Linked DNA regions of Homo sapiens: all the other regions are linked to region 1. Evidence: promoter capture Hi-C in 16 types of primary human blood cells and fetal thymus (Javierre and others, 2016). All regions are on one chromosome and are shown on one strand. Each heading gives the region's core, a stretch centred on a gene start or on the middle of the fragment in contact. The rest is flanking DNA. Distances are from core to core; before and after follow the strand shown.

Evidence for each region. Contacts are between HindIII fragments. The CHiCAGO score rates a contact against its expected background, and 5 or more counts as called.
Region 2: the fragment with the promoter of WWOX here is called in contact with the fragment with the promoter of MAF in region 1 in 2 of 17 cell types (naive CD4 T cells and fetal thymus); the score reaches 6.9 in naive CD4 T cells.
Region 3: a fragment that was not itself captured here is called in contact with the fragment with the promoter of MAF in region 1 in 5 of 17 cell types (naive CD4 T cells, naive CD8 T cells, naive B cells and 2 more); the score reaches 10.2 in naive CD4 T cells.
Region 4: a contact is called between a fragment that was not itself captured here and the fragment with the promoter of MAF in region 1, in 1 of 17 cell types (endothelial precursors). The highest score is 7.2, in endothelial precursors.
Region 5: a fragment that was not itself captured here is called in contact with the fragment with the promoter of MAF in region 1 in 1 of 17 cell types (monocytes); the score reaches 5.2 in monocytes.
Region 6: a fragment that was not itself captured here is called in contact with the fragment with the promoter of MAF in region 1 in 2 of 17 cell types (neutrophils and monocytes); the score reaches 5.6 in neutrophils.

What each region holds. Positions count from the first base shown.
Region 1 is chr16:79,598,386-79,602,734 of GRCh38, reverse strand. It overlaps MAF (MAF bZIP transcription factor), which reads left to right and starts at 1,998. Exons shown (of 2, transcript NM_005360.5): 1 at 1,998-3,950. The coding sequence starts at 2,833. LOC101928230 (a long non-coding RNA gene) reads right to left here and starts at 1,848. Exons shown (of 3, transcript NR_188556.1): 1 at 1,746-1,848; 2 at 385-688. RefSeq lists an enhancer at 1,789-2,083. The HindIII fragment of the contact is 16,856 bases long and covers 1-4,349 here.
Region 2 is chr16:78,098,404-78,102,752 of GRCh38, reverse strand. It overlaps WWOX (WW domain containing oxidoreductase), which reads right to left and starts at 3,099. Exons shown (of 9, transcript NM_016373.4): 1 at 2,868-3,099. The coding sequence starts at 2,974. RefSeq lists an enhancer at 2,366-2,865. The HindIII fragment of the contact is 3,217 bases long and covers 1,830-4,349 here.
Region 3 is chr16:78,115,523-78,119,871 of GRCh38, reverse strand. All of the region lies in intron 4 of WWOX (WW domain containing oxidoreductase), which reads right to left. Among named protein-coding and RNA genes, the nearest start is that of WWOX, 18 kb to the right of the region's middle. The HindIII fragment of the contact is 1,266 bases long and covers 812-2,077 here.
Region 4 is chr16:78,135,184-78,139,532 of GRCh38, reverse strand. The region is part of intron 4 of WWOX (WW domain containing oxidoreductase); the gene reads right to left. Among named protein-coding and RNA genes, the nearest start is that of WWOX, 38 kb to the right of the region's middle. RefSeq lists an enhancer at 853-1,022. The HindIII fragment of the contact is 3,396 bases long and covers 792-4,187 here.
Region 5 is chr16:78,495,157-78,499,505 of GRCh38, reverse strand. All of the region lies in intron 8 of WWOX (WW domain containing oxidoreductase), which reads right to left. It overlaps WWOX-AS2 (WWOX antisense RNA 2), which reads left to right. Exons shown (of 2, transcript XR_007065129.1): 2 at 3,075-4,349. Among named protein-coding and RNA genes, the nearest start is that of WWOX-AS2, 2.7 kb to the left of the region's middle. The HindIII fragment of the contact is 7,347 bases long and covers 1-4,349 here.
Region 6 is chr16:78,511,717-78,516,065 of GRCh38, reverse strand. All of the region lies in intron 8 of WWOX (WW domain containing oxidoreductase), which reads right to left. Among named protein-coding and RNA genes, the nearest start is that of WWOX-AS2, 14 kb to the right of the region's middle. The HindIII fragment of the contact is 2,881 bases long and covers 432-3,312 here.

The sequences.
Region 1 (4,349 bases), core at 749-3,248:
ACTAGAGACATCTCATTTATCACTGAATTACAAGTAACTTTAATCCTATTGATATTGCCATAAAGCCCGTTGAAAATCCATCCTGGCACTTTTAAAGGGTTTGGGGCCCTGTTACATGGGGATCCTCTTGCAAAGGTCTCAGCCAGAAATTACACCCCGAGGGTGTCTGTATCCCCTGGCCTCTTTGTCAACAATCAAGGAGAAGAGGAGGGGCAAAAATGATCTCTGCATCTGCCAGCACTTTCTTCGGCCCCTTTCCTATAGGGTCGGGTTCTCCCACTTCAGTCAAACTAACTTTGTGTGTCTCTTTCCTCCTCCCACACTGGGTAACCAGCTGCTTTTCACTTCATCGACAAAACTGGACACGGATCAATTTCAACTGACCTTTGCCGAAAGGTGGCGCTGTTGAGGTAAAAACCAACTCGCTCCAACAATAGTTTCCACTCTTCGATCCTTTTGCAGGCTTTTCAGAATTTTTTTTTTTTTTTAATGCACCCTCCTAGCGTCTCCCCCTTCTCATAAAGTAAAATAAATACGATTAAAAACACCAAATGCATTTCATTAATTGAAGGAATCAACAGTCCCAACTTCTAAGCAGACGGGCTGGTCTTCCAAAGGCTGGGTCGGTTTCAGGAGCTTTCTCTCCAAATAAATCTCTGCTTCTTCGACTTGCCTATCGCTTTAAAATCTTAGAAACAGAGTTAGTTGTTGGTTTCCTTCTTTTTTCTTTTTCTTTTTTATTTCTTTTTTGCATAAACTTTTAGAGAATCAATCTAGAAATTTGAACTACTTATTAGCATTTGCAACTGGGGGTGGGGGGAGCAGCCTCCCCCACCCCACCCCCCACTCTGCGTTTCCGGACTAGTTCCAGAAACCGCGGTTTAAAATTTAACCCTTCGAGGGTAGCTGGTGAGGGCTGGGGTATTGTTTTTCCCCCTTGCTCCCTGCCACGATCAAGTCCGAAATAATTAAAGGAAACGTAAAAGTGCAAAGGGCGCGCCTGACCCTGATAAACAGAGGTCAGATTTCGTAAGGGGACGGGTGAGTGTGAGTGTGTGTGTGTTTGTGTGTGTGTGTGTAAGAGAGAGAGAGAGCGAGCGCGCAATATGAGTCTCAAAGGCCAAACTCCGGCCAGTCAGGAGCCGGAAGGCTGAGCCCGGCTGACCTGACTTTGAGCTTCCCCGGAGTTATCTCGCATAGGCGCTCGCTCTGTCCAAGGGCACGCGACGCCAGCGGGCAGCCGGTCTCCGTGAAGAATGGCCTCTAAACAACTTATTTTACCTCGTTGTAAAGAGAGGGATAAAATGGGCTTTCCCTCTCCACGGATGCCCAGCCTTCTGGGCAGGCGCATGGCCGGGCGGCGCCCAGCCCGCAGCCCCGATCCGGACACCCCACTGCATCCCTCCCTTCCCGGTCCCTTCCCCGCACGGGCGCCCGAGAGACGGACAAAGAGTTGGGGCCAAGTTTGAGCGCCGGGCACGGCCAGGCTCAGGGAAGGAAGGTCCCCGGCAGACACCTGGGTACCAGAGTTGGTGCGAGGAGGAAAAGCTGGGAGGCGAATTCACAATCCTGGGGGTGGAGGGCAGGCAGGGGAGGGGAATCAGGCCAATCCCAGCCGAGTGAGCCCCCAGCGAGCTGGGGCTCCGGATGGGAGGCCTGTCTCGCGCTCCAAAGAAAAGCAAACCGCCCTCCCAGGTCCGCCCGGATTGCCGAAGCCCCTCTGGAAAAACTCCTTCCCCTCTTACACCAAACTTTGCGCCGGGCCTCGTTCCCTCCCGGGTAGGCAGCGGCGCAGGAAGGGTTAAGCCAGCCCGTCCCAGCTGACAGTCAGCTGATTGGGCCCTGATTGACAGCTCCGAAAAGTTTCCTTGTTTCTATACTATTATGCTAATCGCGGCCGCTCTCGCCGCCTCCCATTGGCCCGGAGTGCCAGTCAATTTCTCATTTGGACCTGACGTCACGAGTGCTATAAAACTCAGCAATTGCTTTAAACTCTTCTTGCTGGATCAGAGGCTTTAAAATCTTTTTTCATCTTCTAGCTGTAGCTCGGGCTGCTTGTCGGCTTGGCCTCCCCCTCCCCCCTTTGCTCTCTGCCTCGTCTTTCCCCAGGACTTCGCTATTTTGCTTTTTTAAAAAAAGGCAAGAAAGAACTAAACTCCCCCCTCCCTCTCCTCCAGTCGGGCTGCACCTCTGCCTTGCACTTTGCACAGAGGTAGAGAGCGCGCGAGGGAGAGAGAGGAAAGAAAAAAAATAATAAAGAGAGCCAAGCAGAAGAGGAGGCGAGAAGCATGAAGTGTTAACTCCCCCGTGCCAAGGCCCGCGCCGCCCGGACAGACGCCCGCCGCGCCTCCAGCCCCGAGCGGACGCCGCGCGCGCCCTGCCTGCAGCCCGGGCCGGCGAGGCGAGCCCTTCCTTATGCAAAGCGCGCAGCGGAGCGGCGAGCGGGGGACGCCGCGCACCGGGCCGGGCTCCTCCAGCTTCGCCGCCGCAGCCACCACCGCCGCCACCGCAGCTCGCGGAGGATCTTCCCGAGCCTGAAGCCGCCGGCTCGGCGCGCAAGGAGGCGAGCGAGCAAGGAGGGGCCGGGGCGAGCGAGGGAGCACATTGGCGTGAGCAGGGGGGAGGGAGGGCGGGCGCGGGGGGCGCGGGCAGGGCGGGGGGGTGTGTGTGTGAGCGCGCTCGGAGGTTTCGGGCCAGCCACCGCCGCGCAAGCTAGAAGCGCCCCAGCCCGGCAAGCTGGCTCACCCGCTGGCCACCCAGCACAGCCCGCTGGCCCCTCTCCTGCAGCCCATCTGGCGGAGCGGCGGCGGCGGCGGCGGCGGCGGCAGGAGAATGGCATCAGAACTGGCAATGAGCAACTCCGACCTGCCCACCAGTCCCCTGGCCATGGAATATGTTAATGACTTCGATCTGATGAAGTTTGAAGTGAAAAAGGAACCGGTGGAGACCGACCGCATCATCAGCCAGTGCGGCCGTCTCATCGCCGGGGGCTCGCTGTCCTCCACCCCCATGAGCACGCCGTGCAGCTCGGTGCCCCCTTCCCCCAGCTTCTCGGCGCCCAGCCCGGGCTCGGGCAGCGAGCAGAAGGCGCACCTGGAAGACTACTACTGGATGACCGGCTACCCGCAGCAGCTGAACCCCGAGGCGCTGGGCTTCAGCCCCGAGGACGCGGTCGAGGCGCTCATCAGCAACAGCCACCAGCTCCAGGGCGGCTTCGATGGCTACGCGCGCGGGGCGCAGCAGCTGGCCGCGGCGGCCGGGGCCGGTGCCGGCGCCTCCTTGGGCGGCAGCGGCGAGGAGATGGGCCCCGCCGCCGCCGTGGTGTCCGCCGTGATCGCCGCGGCCGCCGCGCAGAGCGGCGCGGGCCCGCACTACCACCACCACCACCACCACGCCGCCGGCCACCACCACCACCCGACGGCCGGCGCGCCCGGCGCCGCGGGCAGCGCGGCCGCCTCGGCCGGTGGCGCTGGGGGCGCGGGCGGCGGTGGCCCGGCCAGCGCTGGGGGCGGCGGCGGCGGCGGCGGCGGCGGAGGCGGCGGGGGCGCGGCGGGGGCGGGGGGCGCCCTGCACCCGCACCACGCCGCCGGCGGCCTGCACTTCGACGACCGCTTCTCCGACGAGCAGCTGGTGACCATGTCTGTGCGCGAGCTGAACCGGCAGCTGCGCGGGGTCAGCAAGGAGGAGGTGATCCGGCTGAAGCAGAAGAGGCGGACCCTGAAAAACCGCGGCTATGCCCAGTCCTGCCGCTTCAAGAGGGTGCAGCAGAGACACGTCCTGGAGTCGGAGAAGAACCAGCTGCTGCAGCAAGTCGACCACCTCAAGCAGGAGATCTCCAGGCTGGTGCGCGAGAGGGACGCGTACAAGGAGAAATACGAGAAGTTGGTGAGCAGCGGCTTCCGAGAAAACGGCTCGAGCAGCGACAACCCGTCCTCTCCCGAGTTTTTCATGTGAGTCTGACACGCGATTCCAGCTAGCCACCCTGATAAGTGCTCCGCGGGGGTCCGGCTCGGGTGTGGGCTTGCTAGTTCTAGAGCCATGCTCGCCACCACCTCACCACCCCCACCCCCACCGAGTTTGGCCCCCTTGGCCCCCTACACACACACAAACCCGCACGCACACACCACACACACACACACACACACACACACACCCCACACCCTGCTCGAGTTTGTGGTGGTGGTGGCTGTTTTAAACTGGGGAGGGAATGGGTGTCTGGCTCATGGATTGCCAATCTGAAATTCTCCATAACTTGCTAGCTTGTTTTTTTTTTTTTTTTACACCCCCCCGCCCCACCCCCGGACTTGCACAATGTTCAATGATCTCAGCAGAGTTCTTCATGTGAAACG
Region 2 (4,349 bases), core at 1,850-4,349, 1.5 Mb after region 1:
TGGGCAAGGGAGACAGGGCCAACAAGGAGGAGTACACAGCCAAGGCTAAGCACGAAGAAGCAGAGAAACAAGGTGACTAGTACAAGGTCGAGGGGACACCCACAGTTAAGAAGGTCTCTTGGGCAGTGACATGTAAGCTCAGCTCTGAAGGATGAGAAGGAGCCTTTCCCCAACAGATGTACAGGTGAGAGGAACAGCAAGTGCCCGCTCAGGAGCTTGCCTCCGTCCCTGCAAAGGCTACTGGAGCTCTGCTGCTGGAAATGTCCCTTTAATTCTCCAGAGCCAGAAATTCTTCCAGAATTCACAAGCTGAATGAATGCCACTCTCTGGCTCTGCCAACAGAGCCCAAGCTTCTCGGCAAGGCACAGAAATCCTTGAAATGGGTCCTCCCTTCCCTGCCTTAACCTTCACATTCCTGGACCCTCACAAAGATCACAGGCCCCTGGACAGGCCATGCAGGGGGTCTCTCCTCTCACTGTTCCCTCTACCTAGACTGCCCTCCTGCCCCACCCACCTCTACTTGAGCTCAAAACACCGCTCTGGGCTTGGCACAGTGCCTCAGGCCTGTGATTCCAGTGCTTCGGGAGGGAGGCTGGCTTGAGTTCAGGAGTTCAAACCAGCCTGGGCAACATGGTGAGACCCCATTTCTACAAAACATGTAATAATTAGCTGGGTGTGGAGGCACACACCTGTGGTCCCGGGTACTCAACAGGCTGATGCGGGAGGATCGCTTGAGCCCAGGAAGTGAAGGTTACTGTGAGGGTGCCACCATATTCCCTCACGACCCCCCCAACTACCTACACACACCTCATGCCAGACACACTACTTCCTGGTATACACACTGCGTGGGGACGCTCCTACACATGTCACTGTGCCCTAATAAGATTGGGTCCTAAGGATGACAACTGGCTCTTATTTGCCTCGGTATAACCAGTGCCAGCCAAAGGCCTGTCACATAATACCTGTGTGTGTCTTGAATGAACTCATCAGAACTTGGTTGTTTTTCCTCTACCTTGCCACCAAAGGCAGCAGTGGTTCACATCCTTGCATAGATTAGAATCACCTGGGAGGGAAGATTTTACAACCTACCAAGGGAGAGGGGAGGGGCCAAACCAATTAAATCAGAAATTCTGGGCTGACGCAGTGGCTCCTGTCTGTAATGCCAACACTTTGGGGGGCCGAGGTGGGCGGATCACTTGAGGCCAGGAGTTGGAGACCAGCCGGGCCAACAGCGCGAAATTAGCCAGGCCTGGTGGCGGGCGCCTGTAATCCCAGCTATTCGGGAGGCTGAGACACGAGAATCGCTTGAACTCGGCATGCAGAGGTTGCAGTGAACCGAGATCGCACCACGGCACTCCAGTTTGGGCGACGGAGCGAGACCCTGTCTTTAAAAAAAAAAAAAAAAAGGCCGGGAGCGGTAGCTCACGCCTGTAATCCCAGCACTTTGAGAGGCCGAGGCGGGAGGATCACGAGGTCAGGAGATCGAGACCATCCTGGCTAACACGGTGAAACCCCGTCTCTACTAAAAACACAAAAACTTAGCCGGGCGTGGTGGCGGGCGCCTGTAGTCCCAGCTACTCGGGAGGCTGAGGCAGGAGAATGGCGTGAACCCGGGAGGCGGAGGCTGCAGTGAGCCGAGATCGCGCCGCTGCACTCCAGCCTGGGCGACAGAGCAAGACTCCGTCTCAAAAGAAAAAAAAAAAAGAAAAACCCTCTGGAAGTGGGGCCCAGAAAAAGGCTCTTACAAAAAAAGTTTCCCAGATGCTGAAAATCAGATTTACATCCATGTTTCTCAAAACCAGGTGATATTCCACCTCACCTGGAAAGCTTAAAAAAAGAGACTCCCAAAGTTGAGAGTCGGCTACAGTAGGTTCTCTATGGAGACCCAAAACGTGTATTTAGGACATTTCCTAGGTGATTCTAAGGTGCCGATATAAGAGGCACTGTCGTATCTTAAGAGCAATCAAGGAACGACAGTTAAGGAACAGAGAGTACCTACTAGACACGGTGCTATGTGCTTTACGCACAGTGCCTGAACTGACCCTCGTATCAACCCATTTTACAGGTGAAAAAACCAAGATTAAACGTTATTTCAATGGCCCAAGGTCACACAGTTAAAGATGAAGGCTCTGCTGGGGTTTCCAAAACTTTCCCAGGAAATGATAGTGAAGCTATCTAGGACTGCTACTAAAAAATACTCCTGGCTAGGCGCAGTGGCTCACGCCTGTAATCTCAATTCTGGAGGCTGAGGCAGGTGGCCTGCTTGAGCCCAGTAGTTCGAGACCAGCCTGGGCAACATGGTGCGACCCTAGTCTCTACAAATACTTAAAAAATTAGTCGGGCATAGTAGTGCACGCTTGTAGTCCCAGCCACTCAAGAGGCTGAGATGAGAGGATTGTCTGAACCCAGTAGGTAGAGGCTACAGTGGGCTATGATGGCACCCCTGCACTCCAGCCTGGATGACTGAGCAATACCGGTCTGGACAAAACAAAACAAAACACAACAAAACTCCTATCCCTGCAACCCAGAGCCTGCAGGAGGGAGCTGAGCATGTGCGCTTTTTAAAACATCTTTATTTTTTGGCGGGGATGAGGCCGCTTTGCCCTCGCCGCGCCGCGCAGTGCTGCATCCTGAACAGCAGAGGGCGCGCCGGGAAGCCACCAGGTGACCCCCGCTGGACCCGAGGCCCACCAAGGGGGCCGGCCCCTACTGGGAACCCTGGACCCTTTTCCCTGAAGCTCCTTAACAGTTACTTTCACTTTGCACCGCACGCGCTGCGCTGGAGTGCGCGTCCTCCCCGCGCAGGTGGCGTCCGTGGGCTGTGCAGGGTCCCAGGTGCGTCCGCGGCCCCACTGCGGCCCCCTTACTTGGCGTAGTAAACCCAGCCGTCCTTGGTGGTTCTCTCCTCCCAGCCCGGAGGCAGCTCGTCCTCACTGTCCGTGTCGTCCAGCCCCGCGTAGCGCAGCGCTGCCATGGCTGACTGTGGAGGCACCTGGCCCCCCTATCGCCCGCTGCCGGGTCCACTCGCTCAGGAACTCACTCCCGCTCCAAACGAGACCCGCGCGCGTCGGGGCCCGACCGCTCACGCCTGCGCACTGCGCCCTCCAGGGGCCGCTCCGCCGACCACGAAGCTGAAATCCAGTCTCCGCAATATCGCGACGGCCGGCGTCAAAGGGGCAGGGCCTGGAGAGGAAGGCGGTGAAAGTGCCTAAGAGATCGCGCTGCCGCCGGGCTAGACAGCAAAGCCGGAGAGCGCTCCGAGGCGCTAGAGATAGAGCGGAGCCTTGTCAGCCTCCCCGCCGCAGGGAAGGGGCGTGCGCATCCAGTTTCGGGCCAGGACTCCGCCCGTTGCTGGGCGACCCGTAATCACTTCCGCGTTGTTCTGGCCAATCCTGCAGGAGCCCGGCAATTGGATATGGGAAATGTAGTCCAGGTGGCGCCTGACCAAAAAGCGGCGCCCGACTAAAAAGCGGCGCCCATGCTGTTGTCCTGGGCTTCTGTCTCTCCTTGCCTTGGGGTCTCGTGAAAGTCCGTGATCACAAACCTTCCAGGGCTTGCCAGCATTCGTGCTGATTCACAACCTTTGTTTTGCATATGAACACAATGTTAAAATATAACCTGGAGAACTTAAAACTGCTGATTCCTGATTTCCTGGTTTTAGAGAACTTTCTTTCAGCCAAAACACATAATAGAGACTGTGATAATAGAGACTGTTGTTTAATAGAGACTCATGATAATAGAGACTGATGATAATAGAGACTGATTGATAATAGAGACTGTTGATAATAGAGACTGATGTTTACGGAGCACTTAATGTGCGGTCCAGGCCAGAAATGCACAGACATCACATGTAGCTGACACCTTTGTGTAGTGGGCACAACTCAGACAGGGTAGCTAGGCCGGGCTCAGTGGCTCATGCCTGTAATCCAAACACATTAGGAGGCTGAGGCAGGAGGATCACTTGAGGCCAGGAGTTTGAGAACAGCCTGGGCAACATCGCAAGACCCCTGTCTTTACCAAAAATAATTATTTTTTTAGTTTGCCGGGCGTGGTAGTGCACATCGGTAGTCCCAGCTACTCATTGAGGCTGAAGGGGGAGGATCACTTGAGCCCAAGAAGTCGAGGCTGCAGTGAGCTATGATCGGGCCACTGCACTCCAGCATGGACGACAGAGAGAGCTGCTGTCTTTAAAAAACTGCCTCACCTTTAGAGAATTTCCTTTAGTAAGTCTGGAATAGGTCCAGAATCTGGAAAGAAAGGGAGGGAGGGAGGGAGGGAGGGAGGAAGGAAGGAAGGAAGGAAGGAAGGAAGGAAGGAAGGAAGGAAGGAAGGAAGGAAGGAAAATAAAA
Region 3 (4,349 bases), core at 195-2,694, 1.5 Mb after region 1:
AAGTTTTAGCCACTGCTGGTTTAGGACTGAAAGTTAAGAAGTTTTATCATCATTACCACAGAAGAGTAGACTGAAAATATCTAATTTGTTCATACTTGCTAATAGCATCTGGGCACAGTGGCTCACACCAGTAATCTCAGTACTTTGGGAGGCTAAGGTGGGAGGATCACTTGAACCCAGGAGTTTGAGACCAACACCTGAGCAACACAGTGAGACCCCATCTCAAACATTAAAAAAAAAAAAAAATTTAATGGATGTCTCACAAACCCTGGATGTCACTCCGTAAATATGATAATAAATCTGTCTGCTTACAGAAAATAATTTGCATGCGCTCCAACAAACATCTAGCTAATTAAGACAATGAACAGAGTAGGTGGTCCCACATTTAGGCATCCAACTAATCCCTCATTAGAAGGATCCTGCCTTTGATGAGCAACATGTCAGCCTGCAGGTAGCAGGGGGCAGCATTTTATACTAAAGTATTTATATGCATAGCCAAATTAGCTGACTGATAGGCTGTGTCTAAAAACGAAGCAGGGACCTTCCTCAATGCGAAATTCCCTCGCCTAAAAAAATTCCCTTTCCTAACACTTCCCAACATTTGCATGTAATGTTCACCGTGCTGAAGGCATTTCCGTTGCTTTTACCAAATCAGAGCCAACAAGCTGCTAACTCCAAAGAGTCGTAAAACACCTGGCCCTTCCTGCTCAGTCTATGTTGAACACAAACAGAAATGAATTCCTCCCTTGTCTCTACTGGTTAGCATTCAGGACTGCGGGGTTCCGGGCCTCTTGATCTCCTAGCGGAAGCTTTGGGTGAAGAGATGGCTTCCCCCTGGATACTGAGATGCTGATCTCCACAGAGAGAGGTCCACAAGCTACAGCTTTCAATCTACAAAGTTCTTCAGGTTCAGAAAGCTGGTTAAACAAAGGTCAAGGAGAGAAGAGTGTTAGTTTCTGAGGAGGCAACATTCTAATCCTTGCAGCTGCCTAAAAAAAAGGCGGGGGTTTCAGGCAACATCCCCAACAGTTACATACAATGTGCTGCCACAGTCTTCCTGGGGCCTGGGGCATTCCATTTGCCTAAATTTCATCTAAGCTGTGGCTAATTTAGAGAATGTTAGGGTGATATCACTTTCAATGAACTGGAGTATCTAACATAGCAGTCGGCACTTTTTTCTGGGAAAGGCCAAAGAGTAAATATTTACAGTTTTGCGAGCTAGATGATCTCTGCCACAACTGGGCGACTCTTCTGGTAACAAGCAAAGGGCCATATTATTTTGGGATAACTGAATATACACAAACAGTAGTTCAACATTATAGGAATGGGAATAAATGGGCATGGCTGTGTTCCAAAAAAAATTCTACTTACAAAATCAGGCAGTGGGTCAGAGTTAGCCCAGAGATGGCAGTTTGTTCATCTCCAATCCAGACAGTTGAATCCAGTCAGCAGCGGTAATACCTGCCTATAAACCTTAATTATAAAACCTAGGACTTCATGAACCCACAATGCTTTATTCTGACATTTCCTCCAAATCCTTTTATCTGTCAGAATCCCTGATTTTTTTTAGATGAATTAAGAATCCCTCCAATTGCCTTAGTAATATCAGTATCAAAAACTCAAAATACAGCTCCGTATCACTTACAGCTGCAGAGAGGAAAATGATGACAAGACAGAGTTTGCTTAGAGGCCACTTCAAAGGGGGCATGGCTCTAGTGCAACCCTAAAGTCTATCAAGGGAGGGATGTCCCCTTCTTTATCAGTGAGATCCTCACCAATGGCAATTCCAACAAAGCAGCGTCATATGGGGCATTAAAAAAAAAAAAGAAAGAAAGAAAGAAAGAAAGAACCACTGGAAATACTAGATTTGCAAATCGGCCTTTGTAAGGCAAATTAGATATCTATGTTTTTATTGTGGAGTCACCACTTTCAAAATAAATCCTGTTATGTTATGTTTCAGCCCACCCCGCCTTAGAGAAAACGGACATTCACAGGGTTAAAGATTTCACGGTTTATCCAAAGAAAACAGGCTCCCTTGAGTGGCCAAAGGAAAGGGAACACCAACACCATTAAAGCTTAGATAGAATATGACTCCTGAATGCCCCAGAAGTCTTGGAAGTAAAGATGCCCAATTCACTCACTCGGCATTCAGCTATTTCATTTTAAATGAGCGGAACTAAAGTAGTGATAGCAATTTATAAATTGGCATGTTTCATAGCTTAGTAGAAGGACTTTATCTAGAAGCCACAGCCTACTTGGGCAAGGACACTTTCTAAGGCAGCCACGCAGGATATAAAAGCTAACTTAGCAAAGCCATGTGCCTATCTGCAGCCTCTTCCTTTCTTCAGACCTGATACCACTGCTGCAGAGTGCAAGTGATTTGTGAGTTTTTGATTGCCTGGAACTTGCAGTACGATATTATTTCAAAAATTCAGAATAAAAATCTTCACCACTCACCTAGACGTATGCTTCCCAAGAGTGGAGGGGAATGGGGTGAGGTGACAGTGTTAAAGGCCATTCCTGCGGAAGGTGACAGCTGGGGAAAGAGCTGTGGGCACTTGAATAGGAAAGGCTGGTCTCCCTAAGACCTTGTGCGACATCTGTGCCATCCTGAGCGTTACAATTTGCCACAACCTCCAACTGGACCGCAGACACCTCCTGCAGTGTCCACAAAATGAATTATAGGTATCAGGAAGGAAGAGTCTTAGGGGGAAGTGGGAGCTGTGAAGAGGCACAAAGAGTTTCTGGCTTTACTCCAACATGTGAGGGCCATTCTCAGCAACCACAAATTTATTCTCAATGCTTCAGAATCTCCTCCTCTCCATCAAGACTTATGTATCTAACTAGATATCACCCTTTTAATATTCTGAACCAACTCTATCAGTCCTGGATTACAATGTCGCAGGTCTGCTGTTGCAAATCTTTGAAAGAGCATTAGCTCTATTCAAGAGTCTGCTATCTAATGTCACATGGAGCAGTTCGAACACTTAACACAAAAAACAATCAGTAGTCACATATCTTACTCATTACAGAAAAAGAGTCTAGCTAGAAGATTAAGAGAATAAGATCTTTAAAGTTTCTGGCTAACTTGTTAAATTGTTAAAAAGACATTTTTAAGCCCTTAAGTCCTTTTTTCTTAATTATTCCACAATTGTATGGGTCCATGCATTCACTGTAACAGTACTTAATATGATCAACAAAATGTATTCTTCTTAGATTGGGGATCCAGCCATTGTTTTAAATATTACGCCATCAGTTTTGACTTCAATGACAATTATATAAAATTTACTCCAATGCAGAAGTTCAGACAAGTGGATTGAACATATTTGGAGCCCAGGATGAGGTATGAGAGTTGATTTGAAATAAAATCCTTTCAATTCTTAAAAAAAAATTTCCATTTGCTTCTTTACCTTCATAGGCAAGTACAGTAAAAAAATTCTCCACTCGGATGGCAACCTGGTAGATTTCACACCTTGTACAACACAATAATTGACCCTTGAACAATGTATTTTTACCTCCTGTGCCTCCCTAATCATGCTAGAAAATATTTCTGCAGCTTCAAGGAATTGTTCAAAATTAAGAAAGAAGTGCAGATGGTTAATGGGTACAAAAAAGATAGAAAGAAAGAATAAGACCTACTATTTGATAGCACAACAAGTTGATTATAGTTAATAATAACTTAATTGCACATTGTAAAATATCTAAAAGGGTATAACTGAATTGTTTATCACTCAAAGGATAAATTCTTGAGGGGATGGATACCCCATTCTCCATGATGTGACTATTTCACATTGCATCCCTGTATCAAAACATCTCATGAACCCCATAAATATAGACACCTTTATATACCCACAAAAAATAAAAATAAAAACAAAATTAGGAAAGAGAAACAAATGAGTAGAGGAGGGCATCAAGGGGGCCGTGTGAGGGCTGCGGGGGACCAAAAGGACAGAGAGAACTTGACAGAAGACAGCCAAATGCAACGTTTCATATGTCGACAAATCTGAAGATGCATATCTAAACTCAAAGCAGGTGGTTCTCACTGATTCAGATACTTATGTAAATAGATCAAAGCAAAATCAGAATAAAATCCTATGAAGAGTTATGGTTTGCTCCCGCCTTGCTCCTGTCTCCTTAATGGCCCATCATATTGAAGCAAGGATACCCTCTTGAGCCATCTACCCATGATAGTCCCTGTGGGTAAACATTGGCAATTAAGAGGTGAAGACAGGAACTCATTCTCCAATTTTATAGAGAAATAAGATCCTGTGCCCAAAAGAAAATGATATGCTCAGTGACCAGTCGAAACCTGTAGTATCCTTTGTTCCAAAGACATAATACCTTGTTGT
Region 4 (4,349 bases), core at 1,240-3,739, 1.5 Mb after region 1:
GCTGGGATTATAGGCGCCTGCCAGTACGCCCAACTAATTTTTTGTATTTTTAGTAGAGAAGGGGTTTCACCATGTTGGCCAGGCTGGTCTTGAACCCTTGACCTCATGATTCACCTGCCTTGGCCTCCCAAAGTACTGGGATTACAGGCATGAGCCAACAGTGCCAGACCTACTGTCTGCTTTTTATACAATGTGAATCATTAGAAAAGCAACACCCTCTCGCCAACCCCACCCCCGACAATTCTAATCAGTTAAATGCTGCCTCCTTGCAGATTTTGTCCATTGGTCCTGGTTCTGTCCCTTGAAGAAAGCTAGGATTATCTCTCTCCTAGATAGCTACTGAGAGAACTAATTTACATAAATCTTTTCTTCTACCAACTAACCAGCCATTCACTCTTCCTTTAAGGGTTGCTCCTAGGACATGACCCAATGACTTTGCCATCCTTTAGCCTGTCTATGCGCCACCCCTAAATGAACGTAATATTCTAGATACGGTCTGATTGGTGGGACTGTGTACCTTTCTTTACAACAAACCATGAAGGTTTCAACCACCCAGAGGTATAAACGGGTTGTCTGCATCAGAGGCCTCGTTGCAAATGTTAGGAGTTGCAAGAAACAGTTGCATGGGGGGAACATCTTTGAGCAGCTGTAGGTAATAGAGATGCCAAATGATGATTGCAATTCAGAAGCCCCATTTTGAGCACTTGCTCCCCACTCACATCCGTGGAGTGGCGCATTAAGCACTTCGCTGGGACTCTCCCGCAGCGTGCTGCACGTGGTTCTTGAAAGCTTGATTACGGTCTACAGCAGTTGGGTGATTGCTACTGAAGGCAGGCAGATGCCTGGTGACTTCTCAGGGTGGGCTGTCCCCAGTGTGTTTTATGACCATGCAGAAAGGAAAAATAAGGAATTTAAAAAATCTTCTTTCAAAAGATATGGATTCTTATCGGACTTTCATTCCTTAGTAAAGTTGCATTAAACCCAGAGACATTTATTCTTTAATTTTCCCTATTCTCTCATATGGAAGGTAGGAAGAATTTGCACTCAGGCCCCACTGAAAGATAAGTGCCAGATTCACTCCTGTCCTCCTTTCCCTTTTGGTTTTCACATCCTTATTCTGAGCTAACCACATCACGAGCACATCTTTACTGCTCAACTGAGTTCTCCTGAAGCATTATAAAAAACAAATCAGTTACATGTTTTAAATATCCGTTGGCAAGCATCATAGCATGGCTCTTAATCTGAGAAATAATTTTAATTAAACTAAAAAGAGGTAAGTCATTGAACACACAATAATTAAACAGCAGACTGTGCTGTCAGCAAAACTGGGCTGGCTCTTGCAGGATTATCAGAGGGACTGGCGTTGTCATGTGATGTTTTGTGACTCTTCTACAGTCCTACCATCAGCTCTCGTGAAGAGGATGCAGCGAGCCATTTAGACAGTTGGCCAAGAACAGTCTGCTAGACAACTTTCCTCATTGCATCCATTATAGAAGCTGATCAGAAGAATTCTCATTTTCCTTGAGCGAGGTTCTGTTTCCTTTGAACAATGGTTTGCTCACCCACTCTGTTCCTTTCACTTCCTCTTGTGCTGTTTGTGATATCCACACACTATGGATAAGATTTAGGTCTAAACGGATAAGGAAAAAGACCTGCTTTCATATATCAATTCTATTAAGAGTATGGATACTGCTCAAGTACAGCACATAGAGCCATAGCTTTGCAAAAAACTTTTATTATCTGTTGACAATTTTGCACACTACCTAAGAGCTGTCAAATAAAACAGGCCAATTTTTATCAAACTCCCAAAGTGGAACAGAGACCACAACAACTTTAGAATCCCTCAGCAGACTGTTTCAGGAATCTAAAACCCAAGCAAACCCTTTTTCCCTGTTTCATATGACGGTGCATCTTAACCCAGCTCCTTTTTACCTACAAAGAAAAACGGTAATTCCCTCTGTGGCGGCATATATATGAAGTCATCCATAAGAAGAAAATAAGAACTTGGTCCTAGACACAAAACAATACGTAAGGAAATTCCTCATGGACTAACACAAGCGGTCAGACACCACACTAGTTGCTTTCATTCCACCTTGTCGAATTCTCACAACTCTGTGATGCTGACGTCATGGTTCCCATTTTACAGATGAGGAAACTGAGACTCCGGGGTGAAAGATACTGTGCCAGGCCCCAGAATTGGCAAGCTGGAAAGCATAGACGTCAAAACAGCACGTCTAGTTATCGGAGGGTGAGGATTCACAATCCAAAAGAAAACTAGGGGGTGGACACACATTTACGTTGCAGTCTTATTTCCCAAGGCGTCATAATTTTCATCACTCTCTTATTGGTTGCAGGAGGAAAAAGGCATCTTCTCCATTTCAGATGTGTCTTTCTGGGTGAAGGGATCTCCATTTGCGTTAACATCCCTGACCCCCTCTGCCACTCACTTATTCCTGCTCAAGGGAGCTGATCCAACTTATGTTGTGAATGGTATGTGAATGGTAATTCCAGGATTGAGAACCGGGCACACGCAGCTCTGCCTCTCCTCTCCTCTTACAGAGAGCACACACCCTGCTCTCCTGCACTGTCTTGAACATGCTGCATGAATGGGGTCTGCCCTCTGCGAAGGTCTGGCCTGACCTAGCACTGACCCATTACCCTGTCTAATTGTGGTGGTCAGGATTAGAAAGCCCACCAGCTCACACAGCTATACATATTCTCCAGTATCAGCTTCATGAATGACTCAGGTGATGTTTTGGTCTTCCATTTGCCTAATGGGTGGTCTTACTGCTCAGTTAGGTAGTAACTTGGGAAAGGGAAACTGTGTTATTTGATAGACCTCTTAAAACCCAAACATCTCTTTACAGGTTAACGAACCAACCTGTGCTTAGATTTCTCTAGTGAGAGTAAAAAGCTCTACGTTCCTCAAGTCTCTGTAATTTAAGAATAACACGGCTACACATTTCATTTCAGTTTGAAACTCATAAACAGATGTGATATGACAGCACTTTATTAGGTTTTGTCCTCTAGATTTGAAAGAGCTCACAGGCCCCATGATGAAGACTAGATCCAGTAAGGTCTAAAGAGAGAGACATGACTCAATGAACACCAAAGCAGACACCCAGGAAACAGCATCCTTTGCTCACCCTGTCCTGGGAATCAAATAAGCCTGTTATGAATCTGAATGTATATTACAAGCAAATACTATTTTTCCAGCTACACGTTCTTCCTTGTTTCACTGTATCACAATAATTTTTTAAAAGCATAGGGATATCATGAAATCCCTTGCTTTGTAGAAGATTCCATTATAAGAGTAATCATTATTGAACCTTTTAGCCCAGATGTAATTTCTTACATGTTACAACAAGTTTGGCACGCATTGTGAATTTCAGCCAAGGTTGATAAAGTTCAATAACTTGGCTAACCAACCATGTGTACTACTCATTATAGAAGTAATAAATAGATTCATCAAAATGGACATGAAAAAGCCATAAGAAAATCGGATGCCATTTCCAGCCTGCCTCATAAAAGCACCTCTTGGACTTTAATATAATTTTATATATAGTTATCACAACTGCCCATCATTCAACACCAGGCATCTATAAAACAATCACCCACCCACATTTGCATGCTGAATAAATTCCAGCTACAAAGGTGAATTCTCTATTCTAGACGTCTCAAAAGTCACATAGAGGTACATGTGCTTATATGTTCAACTCCCAAAAGGACTGACAAGTAAAAAAGGAATCACAGATCGACATGTCATTTTCCCTGCTATTATCTTTTTGAGTCAGTTTTAGTGGAAGGTGTTTTTTTTGTTGTTTGTTGTTGTTGTTTTGTTTTTTTTTCAGTAATACTGTCAGTCTAATTATTCTCATAGCCTATTGGTAATTGAAAAATTTAGTAGAAAGAAAAGAAAGCCTGATTTAGATAAATGTCATGGATAGAAAAAAGAAATCTAAGTTCACAGAATGGAAGAATCTCCTATGATTAAATGTGCAGAAGTCAGTAAAGCTGGCTTCTATAATAATATCTAAACAACATTAACAAAATTGAATTTAGAAGATTTGAATTGAAGATAACTTCAGCAACTGTATAGTTAAAAATCCAGATTCTGCCTACTGTACGTCTTTTATGCTTCTAAAAGGAAACTCAGACTCTATTAGACATTCAAGGAAACTAAAGCTTCCCCTCCTTCTCAGAAAGAAATAGTCCCTCACACTTGGTAAACCACAGTAGAGCTCTAGTGTCAAGCTCTAAACTAAACATGAAAAGGCACGTGGTACATTTCAAACACTGTCATGTGAACACTTTGCTAGGTAAATAACGACTCTTGAGTTGTTGCACGT
Region 5 (4,349 bases), core at 1,177-3,676, 1.1 Mb after region 1:
AGTTGCCAAAGAACGGAAAATCTCCATGAGTCCCACCTGACCACTTAGAAAGGTTAGCTATGGTAAAAAGTGAACAGGTGGGATACAAGCCAAAAGACAAATAAGACTATGAGACTATCACAAAGGGGCTGGTGGACAGCCAGGGGGTCTCCCGTGGGCCAAACCCATCCAGAAAGACTACAGAGCATGTGTGCCACCCCACCACCAGAAGCAAGGCCACACACATAAGAACATCGTAGCTTGCTGCCTTTCCACCACCTCCGCCCCCTCACCCCCCCAAAGCAAAGCCATCTCACTGAGCTAGGGCCAGCGTGGACACCTTCAAGTGTTAGATACGCACTATCACCGTGCATCACGAGGAAAGAGAAGGGCCCACATGGTTTTCATACTTAGGAAAATTCAGCTTTAATCAAACTCAGTTAATTATTGACTCAACAAGGATGAAACTACAATAAAACCATTTTTGCCAGAGGCCAAACTATTAAGAAACCTCGTGTACTTCATAGACAAAAAGCCTTCAGAAGTATTCCTTGAGCCTTCATAATATTCCATCTTAACAATCATTATTGTGCTTATCTCTCAATGCCAATAAAGGAGAGACAATCGAGGAAGTTGCCTATGTATTTAAGGAAAAAAAACAGACCAGTAACAGTGGCTCCTGCCTGTATTCCTAGCATTTTGGGAGGCCAAGGCAGGAAGACTACTTGAAACCAGGAGTTCGAGATTATAGTGAACTATGATCATGCCATCATGCCACTGCACTCCAGCCTGGGCAACAGAGCAAGATCTGTCTCTGTTTAAAAACAGAAAGAGAGAATGGGGAATCGGCCTAAGTAAATGCCGCTGCTCTCCTTTACAGAATTAGTGAAACAACAATGTCCCTTCTGAATTTTTCTTGCCATGAACATCTCCCAATCCTTGTGTGTTGCTCATTACCCTTTAGGCCAAAGGTGTGCAGCACTTTCTCGGTCTCTGTCACCTTCAACTCCTCATCAATAGCCTCACACCTTGTGCTTCTCAGTGGGTAGAGTTTTATCATAAGATTTGTGAGCAGGCCATGTGTGGTTTAGAAAAGGGGCTCTTCCTGAAAACCTTGCCCCTAGGTGGGGAAGGGGTGGGAAGAGATGTGCCTGGTCTATCAACTGTGAAATCACTGGCCTGAGCCCCATGAATTACAGCCTGCAATTTACAGAGCAATAAAATAAACCACAAAATACGCTTTAAGAAGTCTAACAGCATTATTTTTCTCCTCCTGCTTCATGGTGACAACCCTGATGCTTTTTTTTCTTTTTTTTTTTTTTGAGATGGAGTCTTGCTCTGTTGCCCAGGCTGGAGTGCAGTGGCACAATCTCGGCTCACTGCAAGCTCCACCTCCCATGTTCATGCCATTCTCCTGCCTCAGCCTCCCAAGTAGCTGGGACTACAGGCGCCCGCCACCACGCACAGCTAATTTCTTTTTGTATTTTTAGTAGAGACAGCATTTCACCATGTTAGCCAGGATGGTCTCGATCTCCCGATCTTGTGATCCGCCCACCTCGGCCTCCCAAAGTGCTGTCATTACAGGCGTGAGCTACTGCTCCCAGCCCCCTGATGCTTTGTTAAAAATACCAAATTCCCTTTAAAATGTGGGCTTTTTTAATTTTTTTATAATTCTCAGTAACTCCGGTGTATAATCTACCATTTATTGATTTATTTATGATAAAACAACCTCTCATTGTGAAAAACAGCTAAGGGTGACATCTCCAGACCCAACCACTGTCCCTGTAATGTCCTGCTGAGAGTCCACATTTTGGAAATCCAATCATGAAGAGTGATTAGACCTAATCAAACAAGTATTTATTCAACACACAATAATGCTAGATGTTGGAAGGGCCATTTTTACATCAGATTCTTTTCTTGCATTTACGCTGTGTGTACATTTTGAATATTAACCCCTTATCACATGTGTGGTTTGCAAATATTCTCTTTCTGTAGGATGCTGCTTCACTCTGTTCATTGCTTCCTTTCTGTAAAGAAATTTTTTAGATTGTTGTAATCCCAGTTGTCTATTTTTGCTTTTGCTACCTGTTTTTCGGTTCATATACAAAAACACTCATTGTGCAGACCAGTGTCATGGAGCTTTCCTCCTTGTTTTCTTCTACTAATTTTACACTGTCAGATCTTATGTTTAAGTCTCCAATCCACTTTGAGTTGATTTTTCTATATGGTGTGAGGTAAGAAAAGAACAAATTCTGAATAAAATTGGAGGAAAAGCTAGAATCAGAGCAAAAAAATGAGTATGTGCTGTGGAATCATTTGGTCAACTTCCTCATGTGCATATGCTATTGAGTCTTTCCAAACACCACCACTCTCAAGCATGAGCAGACATACACCTAACAGAAGGTCATCTGTTGTTTTATGCCAAAGCAAAAGGCATACAATAGACGGCTTGGGCCTTAGCATCCAACATCCCCAAATCTCCCTGCAGAATAATTTCTGACTTTGCCTTCCTCCAAAGTTTCCCATTACTAACATCTTTGCCATAGTTAACTCCCTTGATTTGAGCATTTCATTCTCCTTCTGGATGGCTTGAGAGGGCGGGAAAGGAGAGAATCAATGAGCAAGGCCATCTGGCTTCAACAGTCATTCATTCCTCTCCTTCCATGCACATGGCACAGCAAAAGGGGTTTCCGGAAAGTTGGAGTGACTTCTCCATGTCTTGGGGCCTCTTCCTCAATGCACTTCCCATTTCCCTGGGCACAGCAAATGCAAACACACAGTAAGAAAGCTAATAATTTGTTTGGTTTTACATAGTGAGTTGTCAGTGATGTTGTCTAAAGGGACACCTGAAACCACGAGTAAACCAGAAACTTGGGGTGCATAGAATGCATCCCTCCCTTCAAGATCTTATGCACTAAAGAAAGCAGTGTAATGGGACAAATCCATTTCCCAAAACATGTCCATGGAGATTCAATGGTCATAGAATGGTACACACACCTTTGATGTTATCATAGTGGTCAAGTTAATTGAAAACAGCCACGCAATGCCAACCCCGTGCTAACACGTTTGATTCCTCCCTTAAATTCCATTTACAGGTCATCACAGATAGGAAATTCTCCAATAAGGTCAACACGACAAGGACATCTGCAGTGATCTTTCTACATGCTCTGCCAACTTGGCACTCATCTATAACTTTAGAAGAGGAGGCAGAACATCAGTGATGACTGCAAACATATGCTTGATTTTTTTAAGCAACGGGAAAATGAAAAATGAACGGGAGGAGGGAACACTGCTGCCTTCTGAGGACAGAAGTCGTGTTTCAAGTAGTCAGGAGTGATGGGGAGGTGGGACGAGAATGAAGATTTAGGGGAATCTGAACAAAACAAGGTGGTGTATGGGGAATGAGGGCAGTCAGTAAAGCCAAATAGTACCAGGTGGAAAAATAGCCTAAAAGAAGTACAAGTCTAATCATCCAAAAATTCTAAAGCAAAACTAAAACTCCATAGTTCAGCAAAAGACACCCTTTCAGGTGTTTAGAAGACTGTGGTTATCCGTTTAAAGATGTTCCTCTCTCAAGGAATCTCTGAGAACTATAAATGTGTTTATTAATTTTTATTCTTTACCTAACTAGTAACCGAAAATTATAAACGTAATCCACACTCACTGAAAAAAATAAACCAAGCACAGATTGGTTCAAAGTAAAACATGACCATCTTCCTGGCCGGGCACAGTGGCCCACACCTATAATCCCAGCACTTTGGGAGGTGGAGGCAGGGAATCATTTGAGGTCAGGAGTTCGAGACCACCCTGGCCAACATGGTGAAACCCCGGCTCTACTAAAAATACAAAAATTAGCCAGGTGCCGTGGCGTTGGCCTGTAGTCCCAGCTACTCGGGAGGTTGAGGCAAGAGAGTCACTTGAACCCAGGAGGTGGAGGTTGCAGTGAGCTGAGATCACACCACTGCACTCCAGCCTAGGTGACAAAGTGAGACTCCATCTCCAAAAAAAAAAAAAAAGACCATTTTCTATGACTTCCTAGCCAAATCTACACCTTGAGAAAAAAAACCCTATCAAAAGTCTACTACTGGCCAGGTGCAGTGGCTCACGCCTGTAATCCCAGCACTTTGGGAGGCCAAGGCGGGCAGATCACCTGAGGTCAAGAGTTCGAGACCAGCCTGGCTAACATGGTGAAACCCCGTCTATACTAAAAATACAAAAATTAGCTGGGTGTGGTGGCGGGCGCCTGTAATCCCAGCTACTCAGAAGGCTGAGGCAGGAGAATCGCTTGAATCTAGGAGGCAAAAGTTGCAGTGAGCCGAGATCATGCCACCGCACTGCAACCTGGGCGACAGGCAAGAGTCTATCTCAAA
Region 6 (4,349 bases), core at 623-3,122, 1.1 Mb after region 1:
CATGCTACTCTCTTAATCTGTGAGAAAACCTTAAAGAGAGGGAGCAGGGAAGGGGAGAGAAGAGAAAAGGGGGACAAGGGGGGATGGAAGGAGAGAGACTGATTGATTGACTGATTGACTGAGAGACAAATGAAACCTAACAACACGTAACAAAATTTCACATGGGCCAAAGATGTTCACCTTCAGGTGTCTTTCTACCTTGCCAGACTGCCAAGATTGGAGAATGTTATTGCTTTTTTTAACTGAAGGTGCTGACTTATTGGAAGAAGACCCTGTACCCTCCGCTAAGTTACCTTTGCAGAAGAAACTGTTGCAGAAGTGCTGAACACGCAGACCTAGGGCAACGGGCAACGCGCAGTCTGGCAGGTGAAAAGGCAGGTGTGGAAGGGAGCGGCTGCGAGGAGAGGCCGGCAAGAAAGCTGACGGAAGCTTTCCATCTCACCTAGGCATCCGGCCTGGCTCTGCACAGAGATAGCTATGTGATGCCCGGATGGTTCCACCAGACGTTTCTAAAAACGTTCATAGACAACATGCAAGTCACCTACCTCTTCTTGCACACTTCCGGGGAAATGACCAGTACACCAAGCAAACCATTAGAAATAAATAAAAAGAGCTGGTGTCTCATCTCAGTGTGCCTCTCAAACACAGATATGCCATTTAATTCCTTAAGTGTTAGTTAAGTAACTACGATGAGCTTAGCTGTACGCAGAGTCTGAAATTACATCTTCAATTCCCTCCACACACGAGATCTATTTTTTTCTCATTAGAAAAGTAACAAAATCATTTCAGAAAATAGTCAGCTATGGAATAGTATTTTTTTGTTTGTTTTATTTTCTGTTTCTGAGACAGGGTCTCGCTCTGTCGCCTAGGCTGGAGTGCAGTGACACGATCTCGGTTCACTGTAACCTCCGCCTCCCGGGTTCAAGTGATTCTCCTGCCTCAGCCTCCTGAGTAGCTGCAATTACAGGCGTGAACCACCAGGTTCAGCTAATTTTTTTTTGTATTTTTAGTAGAGGTGGGGTTTTGCCACACTGGCCAGACTGGTCTTGATGTCCTGACTTCAGGTGATCCACCTGCCTCGGCCTCCCCAAGTGCTGGGATTATAGCCATGAGCCTCAAAAACGCCTGTGATTCTCAAAACACAGACCATGGCCATCTTGCTACCTGATATATGAAACTTCACTTTATGGGGCTGTATTCCCAGCACTCAAATAGTGAGTGGCACATAATAGATAATTCATTGGTCTTTTCTGAGAGAAGGGAGGCAGACAAATTATAGTAACATTATTTATGTATATCTATTTTCAATGCCTGTGTGTTTATATAGCCAGAAAACCACCCTGTACATACTGTTTTTAAACTGCTTATTCCACTTAATAATAAATTGCCAGCCTTTTGCCAACACTAAATGCATTTTTTAAATGCATCAAGAAACTCTTGCTATCTTGCCCTGGGACAGGTAAGGAAATCTGGTACACTTATCGGTCAAGGAAGCTGTTATCAGCACCAAGAGCTCAGAGGAAAGGCAATGATGCCTATCTAAGTGTACCAGGGCCGCAGATTAGGACCACTTCACCTTTGCTAACTTTTTAGCTCACTGCACTGCTTTTACCTCCACACATGGAAAATGTATCTATCCTTTGTCAAGCAAACTAATAGTGAAAACCTGCCAAGGAGAAAAATTTCATGGACCTAATAGTGAACTCACAAGCTGTTTTCAAGCAGTTGTACATGCACACACTCAATGGCAGCTGTTGCACATAATTAATGTGCTTATTATACATAATTATCTAATTACTAAAGGAGGGAGTCAAAGCAAGTGTGGGAGGAAAGATATTAAAATCTGCTCTTTTTAGAATGTTCTATAACATAGACTAGGTTGCTGTATCTGAAAGTCACTCTCTAAGTTTTTTTCTGACGTCTGAAGCCTCTATAGAGAAAGTCTTTCTAAATGCTTGAGCAGTATTTATGGGGTTGGCTGATTTTGAGTCATTCTATTAACAGAATAGGTTTCTCAATAAATACTATATAAAGAAAATTGTGACATACAACTATTCTTTCGCAACACTGTGTGAACCAGGACTTGTAACAGACACCTGCAAGGGAAGAGTTTCCCAATGGATGTTCCCAAGAAGACTGTCATACAAAGTGATACAAGTGGGGGGGGGGGGAGTGGGAACTGTAATATAAATTTAGAAAACACTGTTTTTCGACCAAGTGTTCCCTGTAAGGTTGATTCCAAGACGTGTAAAGTATGCAGGTGGATGGTAAGTGGTGACGTAAGTTTGGAAAATACTATTCGCTCCCCTTCTTAGAGGGGTATATGAGACATTTACATACAAAGGCTCTGATAAGTATTGTATTTCTCAAATATTAATAGTTTTGACACAGAATCCTTTTACACCACCTCTGTATATTTGTAAGTATCAGTGGGACTCACAGGCAATTTGTATTGGAGGACAGGCTAATATTTTACTATTTCCCCTGGATCATTCCTTCACCAAAAGGTTAACTTTCATGTTGAATTGAACCCAAGGTGGAATTCAACCCAAAAGCAACCATCATACAGTAAGATACATGAAAAGCTAAAGCAAACTCTACCCATTGAAGGAGTCTCAAGGAATGTCATTTTCCAGTGATTCCTAGCCTCACTGATTCCCCCACCAGGGCAGTGGATACCCTATCTCAATCATTATTTCCTACGACCCAATAATTACATCTTTTATCAAATGTTGCCCATACCCTCTCTTGAGAATATTCAAGCTCCTACAAATTCCACATCTGAAAAGAGAGCCTCCTACTTACATAGAAGAGATAATTTAGCATCTTTGAAGTATAATTTATTTTATTAATTTGTCAATTCATATCCTGTCTCCTTCCAAAAATGATTTGAGGCATTTGTTTTAATGCTATCATCAAAATTCAATGGGCCATGACCAACGGAGAGAATGAAAATACAAACCAGTTGGAATCTCCAAAGGCACATGTTCATTACGTTTACTACTTAACTTTAACTTTTAATCTCGGGCCATAAAAATTGTCCTAATGAAAGGTCCACAAATATCTCCTAAATGTGCAAAGCAGCAGCTGTGATGACCCACAGCATATGCAGGGCTCTTTTCACTAATGGGCCTTCCTGCCTGGGACTGCCTGAAAAGTAAGACTGGGTAACACGCAGATCCAGATTCTTCCAAAGTGATTCCAATGGGAGGGCTGCATTCGGAAGCAAAGGGACTGCTCTGTTTCTGTTTTTAAATTCAATTTCAAAGCAATGCAACAGTAACCTTCATTGATTTACAAGCCAGTCAAGCTTATTTTAGCATCACTAGTGCAAGTACTTGTGAAAAAATTAATTATTTACCACATATACATAATAACATGAAAACCTGCGAAATGAGTCTCATTGAAGTCCCACCCAGAAATCTTTCTCATCCTTTAAGGCTCCGCACATAGTAGGGGACTCAAGTCCTATTTGCTGAATGAACAAATGAACTCACTCCACTTGAGTATTGCTTTTTTAAAAATTCCATTTCTAATCATGCATTCAATGCTAAGTAAATACAATTAATTGCCCAATAATTTAAAGTGATAAAATGGGTTTTGGTGAACACGTTTAATTCTACTCAACACATTTTTAAAATCAGAAACACTCAAAACTCAGTATTATTTTTCCCTCAAACCTCTTACAAATTGAATTCTGGAAATAAATATACTTTTAAAAGTATATTATCATCATAGTGCATTTCTGCATGAACAATCCATAAGAGTAATTGCTTTTATAATGTGATCCATAAATGCAAATTTACAGGAACCAGCAATTGATAATATTAAATATCGGGAGTTTCTTCTCCATGTATATGGCTTTTTCCTTTTCTGTAATACACCATTCTGAGGAAACACCACAGGGCTGCTATACTTGATCACACAATCTTTATCATTATTTTTCCAGCGTTTTAAAATTAAGTGCAAGTTGCATTGCTAAGTTTAGAATCTTGGATGGAATAACTTGTGTTTGAAGCCAGTGTCTCTAAAACCCTTTATTTCTGATGCCCAGCAAGTTTGATACAACTTCTTTTCATATGTAAAGTGGATCTATGAGATGCTATCTTACCCATTCAACGCAGAAGAATGTGTAAACAGAAGTAGCTGGGTATTTTAGCAGTAAACGGATAATGTCATAAACAGCATGTTGTATTTAATATTCAGATCAAGACATCTCTGTCTCATTCCAGCAGACCCTTCTGACAAAAGCCATCCCATGTCTGCCAGAAGTATCGAGTCCAGCTGAGGACAAATTTCAAGATGAACCTGAAATCAATTTGCCATCAAATTTTCATGCCTCTCCCAGA